Regions from separate parts of the Homo sapiens genome. Here regions 1 and 3 are each linked to region 2. The links are contacts of gene promoters, found by promoter capture Hi-C in blood cells and fetal thymus (Javierre and others, 2016). All regions are on one chromosome and are shown on one strand. The core of a region is centred on a gene start or on the middle of the fragment in contact, and the rest is flanking DNA. Distances in the headings are between cores, read along the strand shown.

The links. Contacts are between HindIII fragments. The CHiCAGO score rates a contact against its expected background, and 5 or more counts as called.
Region 1: a fragment that was not itself captured here is called in contact with the fragment with the promoter of CD47 in region 2 in 1 of 17 cell types (neutrophils); the score reaches 6.1 in neutrophils.
Region 3: a contact is called between a fragment that was not itself captured here and the fragment with the promoter of CD47 in region 2, in 1 of 17 cell types (M0 macrophages). The highest score is 6.0, in M0 macrophages.

Annotation. Positions count from the first base shown.
Region 1 is chr3:105,854,185-105,857,173 of GRCh38, reverse strand. The region is part of intron 2 of CBLB (Cbl proto-oncogene B); the gene reads left to right. Among named protein-coding and RNA genes, the nearest start is that of CBLB, 13 kb to the left of the region's middle. The HindIII fragment of the contact is 6,069 bases long and covers 1-2,989 here.
Region 2 is chr3:108,089,492-108,092,340 of GRCh38, reverse strand. CD47 (CD47 molecule) reads left to right here and starts at 1,310. Exons shown (of 11, transcript NM_001777.4): 1 at 1,310-1,478. The coding sequence starts at 1,433. RefSeq lists silencers at 697-756, 767-816, 837-1,586. The HindIII fragment of the contact is 8,318 bases long and covers 1-2,115 here.
Region 3 is chr3:105,828,529-105,831,308 of GRCh38, reverse strand. The region is part of intron 3 of CBLB (Cbl proto-oncogene B); the gene reads left to right. Among named protein-coding and RNA genes, the nearest start is that of CBLB, 39 kb to the left of the region's middle. RefSeq lists a silencer at 2,306-2,355. The HindIII fragment of the contact is 1,775 bases long and covers 586-2,360 here.

The DNA.
Region 1 (2,989 bases), core at 458-2,957, 2.2 Mb after region 2:
GTCTGGAAAAAAAATACCTGACAGAAATTTTGTATGTATCAGTTAAAAAGTTCTCTAGTAGAGGAAATGAATTTGAAGCTACCTGGTCCCCAAACTAGAAGAAAATAATGTATCAGTCTGTGACATGTTACACCAAGTTTTATGTTGCTGACATTAAACTATGCCTGCTGTAGAATGTTGGTGGCAATATTCTTGGTATTTATGTATACTTGTGATAGTATTTTTGGTTTAAATAATTTAAAAACCATATTCTTTTTCAAGCAGGATTTGTTAAATAATTGGCATATTTGGGACTTAATCTTTAGGGCAGAATGAACTCTGATTATACTAACGTATCACGTATTAAAAAGGGGGTAAAAAAAGCTCTGTCAGCCATTTTCACTATACTTTGTAAAGATTTGCTGTTATTTAGTAAATGAGATGACATCTTACCTTTCCAAGGACTTTCTTGGAGATAAAAATACTATTATTACTTTTTAACTAAGCCTATACCTTTGGATTATTAATTTGAATACTTGATACTTTAGAGTTCAATTGTAAAAATAAAGGAAATAATACAATCAAACTATTTGTGAAAAAAAAATAGCAGTCAACCAATCCATTAATTTGTTGGTTATGTACTCAGCAATTCTGCTTTAAGGCATTGTTTACAAAGAGGAAGAATATAAGATCATGCCCTGGGTTAATGTGAAAAACATCTTAAATTAGAGGCTGATGGTTGGAAATTTGAACCAGATTTTTCTCTCCATCTACTCCCTCTGAAAAAAACCCTGATCCCCAGTGATTTCTTTTTTTTTTCCTTTTCTTTTTTTTTTTTTTTTTTTTGAGATGGAGTCTTGCTTTCTTGTCCAGGCTGAGTGCAGTGATGTGATCTCAGCTCACTGCAACCTCTGCCTCCCGGGTTCAAGTGATTCTCCTGCCTCAGCCTCCTTAGTAGCTGGGATTACAGGCACCTGCCACCACACCCAGCTACTTTTTGTATTTTTAGTAGAGACAGGGTTTCACCATGTTGGCCAGGCTGGTCTCGAACTCCTGACCTCATGATCTGCCTGTCTCGGCCTCCCAAAGTGCTGGGGTTACAGGTGTGAGCCACTGCGCCTGGCCAATTTCTTTAAGAAAGTAAGTGTGATAGTGTGTATAAGAGTACCCTTTAAATTTGTTAGTTCCTTGATTTATTGTGTTCGTTATGCTTGAAGTTATTATAGTTCGATTGTTTATTTGTCCCAGGCACTTTTATGGGTGCCCAGAGGCAGATCCATGTTTTATGTCCCCTGAAACTTATATGATTTGAAAGAATCTTTCTAAATATAAAGAATACGAAAGTACAAACATCAAATTGTTTATGAAAGTGAATTTTTTTTAGAATGAGAAAAATCCACAAAGCACTATAGTTTTTAAAAAGCCGGTATATCTACAAGTGATTAGAGAAATAATCTAGACTAGTTTTTGGCTCTGTACATTTTATACTTTGATTATCTTCCGTTACCGCATATACTTCCAGTTTTGGGTGTCATGAAACACATTCAAATTGCCAGATTTGAATTGGATTTCACTGTTCCCATGGTAGGCTAGTCAGCATTGTGGGCACCTCAGGTATTTCTAAAACCATCTTTTAAAAAAAGTTCTATTACAGATTTAAAAAATATTGTATTTATTTAAGGTGTATAACATGATGCTTTGATATATATACACATAGTGAAATGGTTACTACATCAAATAAATTAACATATCCTTCACCTTCCATAATTACCTTTCTGTGGTAAGACCATTTAAACTCTGTTCTCTTAGCAAATTTTCAGAATACAGTATTATTAGCTATAGGCCTCATGCTGTACATTAGATCTCCAGTATTAATTATCCTACATAACTTCAAATTTGTACTCTTTGACCTTCTTCTCTCCATTTCTTCCCCTCCCCATCCCTGGGGCCCACCCACTGTTCTACTCTCTGTTTCTTTGTTGCTTAACTCCTTCTTTTAAGATTTTGCATGTGAAAATGAGATCATATATTAATAGTATATTCTTTCTTTGCCTGCCTTATTTCAGTTTCATTGGGATTGCTGACAGTAATTAAACCATTTTACAGGAGTGACTGTATGCCTCACATATACCTTCCATTAAACCCAAAGTAAATGTGTCTTCAATTCAAATTTCCATTAGCCAGATTCCAAAAATACCCACAGCCACTCCAGTGCCACCCAACAGGAGGCTTTAGCCAATTATGTTTAAGATATTATACTCTTAGGCCGGGTACGGTGGCGCACACCTGTAATCCCAGCACTTTGGGAGGCCGAGGCGGGTGGATCACAAGGTCAGGAGTTCGAGACCAGCCTGACAAAGATGGTGAAATCCCGTCTCTACTAAAAATATAAAAATTAGCCAGGTGCGGTGGCAGGCACCTGTAATCCCAGCTACTTGGGAGGCTGAGGCAGGAGAATCACTTGAACCCGGGAGGCAGAGGTTGCAGTGAGCTGAGATCGTGTCACTACACTCCAGCCTGGGTGACAGAATGAGACTCCGTCTTAAAAAAACAATAAAATAAAATAAGATATACTCTTGACAATTTGACAAAAAAAAAAAATACAACGAGGGCCTTAGAAGAGAGCCATGTATCTTTATGATCTTTATGTGAACATTTAACCTTTTGTAAGAGTGCTGTCCCATTACACTATATAATGCTACTGTGCAATTCTCAATTATTTCATTTGAAAGTTATTTATGTAAAGAGTTGATTATGCCCTTTCTGGAGGGATAAGAATGTGGTGGACTAACTTACTCTTGGCTAAATCACATGAACATGTAGAAGTGAATACATTAGTTGGATTACTACCTTCTCTGGCCGGCAGAAGGTACTTTCAGTTCTGCAGGCAGCCCCTGAACGCCCCAGTGGTTGGGCAGCACCTGTGATGGGATGACTGAACCGTTATATGCCACATGTTTATAGGCGTGGTAGACAGTATGGGGAGGTGGAAAAGACTGGTTCTGACCTG
Region 2 (2,849 bases), core at 61-2,560:
TACAATACACTGGTACAGAGTGTCATAGACAGTGCCACTTTCATACGCTGGATTTTATTTCTGTGGCAATGGGATGCTTGGGAGGAGCCGCACTGTGTAGAGGATTTGGAGAAGTGGGGTATTGTGGTGGGAAATTGCTTTCTTTCCCAGGAGGTAGGAGGAAAACAATCAAGGAGGTGGACAGGATGTGCACTCCATTAGAGCAGCCACCAGAGCCTGACTTTTTGATAAGAGAGTACATCAGTTAGGATAACGGTTAAAAGTATCTTTAAAAGACTTTTGCTTCAGGATGAATGATGTGGCCTGTGTGATTCAGCGATAAATTCAAAAGCCTTGTCCCTATTGTGGCTTGCGGCCACATTTCGAACCCATTTTTCAAGCATGTTAAACCCAAGCGCAGCGCAGAGGGCTGCACATGGGGCAGTCACAAACCAAGCTCAATAACCTTGCTGGTGGGGATGTGTTGGATACGCTGCTAATGCCTGTTTGCGACAATGCTCGCTAGTCCCGGTGGTGGCGGTGTTCACAGGTAACAATGTTTACCACCGTGAATGGAACTTGTTTGATTAACCCTGATCAGAGGATGAAAACACTAAAGAACCAAGTGAGAAAGAGGGAAGAGAACCGCATAGGGAAGAGCAGAGCGAGTAGACGAGCCGAACGCAGAGCCCGCGAGGGGCGAGTGGAAGCTCCCTGCGGGCAGGTACCCGACCACCGCCCTGCCCTGGGCGTGGCGGCCTCGGGCTCAGGGACCGCTTCGGCGCTAGACGGCCGCGTCCGGAGGAAACGGGCGCTGGTGAAAGCCTAGGTGTCCTGGTCCACGCGCGCAGCCGGACGTCGGGTCCAGGGAGAGACGCGGGCTGGGGCGGGACGGGACCCGGCCCCTGAAGCGCGAGGGTGGGAGTGAAAGCAAAGAGGAGAAAAGTAGAGAGAGAGGACAGTGGGGCCCAGCGCCGCGCGAAAGGCAGGAACCGACCCGCGGACAGGAACGGGTGCAATGAGGTCCCCGGCGAGCGTGGGAACACAGGGTTCAGCCTCCTGCGGCGGGCGAGCACGCGGACCCCAGGGGCGGGCGGGTGCGACAGGACGTGACCTGGAAGCGCGGCGCGTGCCACCGCCCTGGAGCAGGCATCCGGCCTCCGTGGAGCGGGCAGGCGGGCCCCGGGTCTGGAGCCTGCGACTGGGGAGGGCGCCGCGTCAACAGCAGCGGTTGCGGGGCGGGGCCGAGTGCGCGTGCGCGGCTCTCGCGGGCGGGGAGCAGGCGGGGGAGCGGGCGGGAAGCAGTGGGAGCGCGCGTGCGCGCGGCCGTGCAGCCTGGGCAGTGGGTCCTGCCTGTGACGCGCGGCGGCGGTCGGTCCTGCCTGTAACGGCGGCGGCGGCTGCTGCTCCGGACACCTGCGGCGGCGGCGGCGACCCCGCGGCGGGCGCGGAGATGTGGCCCCTGGTAGCGGCGCTGTTGCTGGGCTCGGCGTGCTGCGGTGAGTGGCTCCTCGCTCCCAGCCCTGCGGCTGCTGTCGCTTCGCCCCCGCGGGCGTGTGGGCTGCGCCCCAGCCAGCCCGGCGGCGCCCTGAAGAGGGTGGCCGGGGCGCAGAACACTCGGGCCCTGAGCGCCCGAAGTGCAGACGTGGGAGGGCCCCACGGGGAATCGGGCGCCCCCCTTCTTCCTCCCTTCCTTTCCCTGGTCGTCTTCTTCCCCCTGGGTGAGAGCGGGGCTCATCTCCTCCACCCGGTTCTCCATCTCCAAATGCACACACACAGGAAGACTCCAAACCGCGCACCTCGCGCAAAAATTAACTAGCAAGAAAGGGCGCGATCAGAGGCAAGGGGCTGCAGCTGCTAGGGATCCCCTTCTTTCGCACCCCTCTCCCTTCTCAGTGCTTAGACGCATTTGGGGTTGAGGGAGGGAGAGTGGGAGGGCCCGGGCCTCTTGCGATGGAAGTGCGCATTTTGGCGAAGTCGGTGAGAAGGGGTTTCTGCCGTTTGCCTCCCACATGAACATAGGAGCGAAGAGGACGTAAAGGACACAATTAAGTTTCATTTTCAACTCAGCATTCAATCAGAAGAATCTTCCGGCCGTGTAATTTTTGCTGTCGTTTTTAATCCTAAAAATAAGCTTGCTGGAAACTCTTCCTTTCTCGTGACCCTCACGCCCCATCAGCCACTTGCATACATTCTAAATTGTACGTTGAAGTTTTTCCCACTTTATTTGGGGGAACCGTTTTAAAAGTAATCTGGTTTTCGCCTGAAATAGGAAGACAGTAACCTCCAGTCAAAACATGTGCAGCAGAATGGGATTTGGTGTTTTTCGACGCCAAAGAACCTCCACCCCCCCACCCCCACCCCGAGCTTTTGGAATCCATTTCGCTTTTGTAAAACGTGTGCTTCGTCTGTAAAAACTGAGCAAGGAATAGAAACATTCGTAGCTCTACAGTGAGTGCCTGTCACACTTCACATCCATAGAGCCTTTTGTGAACTTTTATAAGATTCAGAATTCAGCTTGAGCACCAGTGACAGCAATTGTTACATTTATTCTAGAATGCTAAATTAATTCGATTTTAAACTGATTATTAGCCTCGGTGTGCCGTTCCTAAAGGCTTGTGACTTTAGGTATTTCCAAGATGCCCTTAAGTCTCTGCTTACCACTTTCCTCCCTCCCCGAGCATCCTGGATGTTGGGACTGTGAATCCAGGTCTCCGTTATCTAAATGGTTGATGTTAGTGTTTCCTGTCATCACGTTTAGTATGCTTGTTGCCTTTACTATCATTATAGCTAAAATAATACTGCTTTCAGAGATGTGTTGTATAATCGCATAATAATTTCAGAACGCCTTCATATTGAACCAGATATGA
Region 3 (2,780 bases), core at 224-2,723, 2.3 Mb after region 2:
CAGGCAGGAAAAGATGTCATGGAAGATATTTTAAAGGAATGGGAGTATACGCCTAGCTTAGAATACAATATGTGAAAGCATATTGTATTGTGGTTCTTTGGTGCTGGATATCTCAGGAGTGGAGGAATTGAAGGATTGTGTTTTCATTTTTACACTTTTTCTCTTCTGCTCTTCTGATTTTTCAACCATGAACATGGTTATGTGTATGGTCTGGTTTGGGGGAAGTATATATCAGAAAAAATAAAACAAGAAAGGAAGTTACTCTGGTTACCATGCAATTTCGTATTTAAATGACAAGGTTTTGCATTTTGGATATTTCATGTCAGCCGTGTCTCCTCAGCTAAGTTCTAGTCACTTAGAAGTTTGGTGTCACTGAATTATAATTTTGGTGCTTCCCATGTTTTATATTTACACTAGACTACATGCTATATGGACAATGTGCAATCAGTTAATATCTGAATGAATGAATTGACCAACTTTTGAGAACAGAGTTTGACATAAATTTGGTGGTTTTTGGTTCATTGTGCTTTAATTGAAGGAGAAGTAGACATTGTACTTCACATTAGGCTACTCTTTAGATAAGCTTTCCATTACATGGCATGTGTCTTACTTTCTTACTTGATAATGGCTCTGTTTCTGAAATTATATAAACAGATTTTTACTGTTTTTAAACTTTACAACTTAATATTAGACTGTAAATTATTTACTTATTTATTGGAAACAAACTTTTAGATACAGAAATTGGTCTTTTAAGACAACAACAAAAAATACCTAGTTTTTAATCTGGCTCCTGTCTTTCATGACTAAGTCTGACTGATCTTTCTTGTTATATGATGCTTTATAAGATTGATTCTGTATCCGGGTTACCAACGCTTCCTGTAACAGAAGAAAAACATTCAGATCCTTATAGTGCTGAGTCAGGGGAAATTATTACATACAACAAAGGAAAAGTCTTTGATAGGAAATATTGCTTCTGGTAGGAAATTAAGTACAGAGTACAAGGATCTAAATGTCTGTCATATAAACAATGGGCAATCTTATTAGGCAATTTTGGACACCTATTACGTGGCTTTATTTATTTATTAATAGTAGGCTTTTCTCATCATGGTTCATGGGGATTTGTAAGGTAACGATACCCTGGACAGCCTTCCAAGATGTTTTGATGTTGGCAGCAATGCATTACTGGGGCAGGGGCAGGGGAGGAGGTAGAAAGTGTGATAACTCTGCATCACTCCTTCTTCTTTGTTCTCATTTATAACACCTAAGGCATTGGAATTCCCCAGAGTAAGAATTCTAGTGAAAAGGGAAGCAAATAAAATACATCTGACAGTTGGGATCCTTGGGTTTATACATGTGCTGACTAATTACATATGAAATGAGATATCCCCTTAAATTAAAACTATTTGAAGATACCACTTCAAATATATGTAATAGATGATTTACACTTCTTATCATGGCTTTCAATAGCAAGAATTTCTCTTGCAGTAGGATAATTAACTAGAAATATAAAGAAATGTTTCAAAAGTATAATAATGTAGAAGAAAAATAGAAAAATTTGATTTTGGAAGAAATCTTCCTCCATTATTATGAAGATAGCTGCAGTTTGGTTTTTTTTTTTTTTTTTTTTTTTTTTTTTTTTTTTGGGACGGTCTTGCTGTGTCGCTCTGGCTATGGTGTGGTGGCATGAACACAGCTCACTGCAGCCTGTACTTACTAGGTTGAGCCATCCTCCTGCCTCAGTCTCCAAGTAGGCTCCCAAGTAGGTGGGACTACAGGTACATGCCACTATGCCTGGCTGATTTTTAAATTTTTTGTAGAGACAGGGTCTCGCCATGTTGCCTAGGCTGGTCTTGAACTCCTGGGCTCAGGCATTTCTCCTGCCTTGGCCTCCCAAAGCGTCAAGATCACAGGCATGAGTCACCACACCCAGCTGATAGCTGCAGTTTTGTGTGTGAGAGTTGATCTTCTTGCCTTTACTGTGACAAAACATCTTTATGGAAAGACAAACAGTATTCGTTACGTTTATTTTACCTGTGTATTCAAGAATGTTTATTTTTTTCATAAGCTACAAAACCAGATTAGAAAAGTAACTTGTATTTCCTAAAAGGAGGCATATTTTAGGAGCTATATGAACTGGGCATTTTTAATTTTTTTTCATTACTTTGGGGAATATTTCAGGATCTCATCAGCATTCATTACATGGGAGGACAGGGGATTAAAAAAACAAAATTGATTGTTAATGAATTTTTTTTTTTTTGTATTTAGGAAGAAGAAAGACTGTAACTTAAAAAGAATTGTGGCAAATTATATATGTTAAATATTCTGGTCTAGAAATGTGGTATAGAGGTTCCCTAGAAGCTTCTGTTCCACTGTGGTTAAAATGTTTTCTCACCTTCTTGAACTGTCTTTGTAGGTGATGTCATGAAATGTCCCAAGAGAACGTTGTATAAAACTTCCTTTGACCTTTCTGGACTCAGGGCTGAGCTCCTTAGACCTACAGTTTCTTGTTAAAATCGAGTAGGTTGTGTTTGAAAAATAAAGTTTATTTGTAAAATTATTTCAGTTTATATTTTATGTATAATCATCTCTCTTACAAATATATGACTCAAGGAAAGATAGTATTTTGCCCTAGGGTCAAGAGTGAAATTATTTAAACTTATTAGTGCATATTTATTTCTTTTCTATTTTATGCTAAAAAAATGTGTGGAACTAAAATTTGAAAAGATACTTATTTTGTTAGTTTAGAAAATGTTTAGTATTTCATATAATCTTAACTTTCA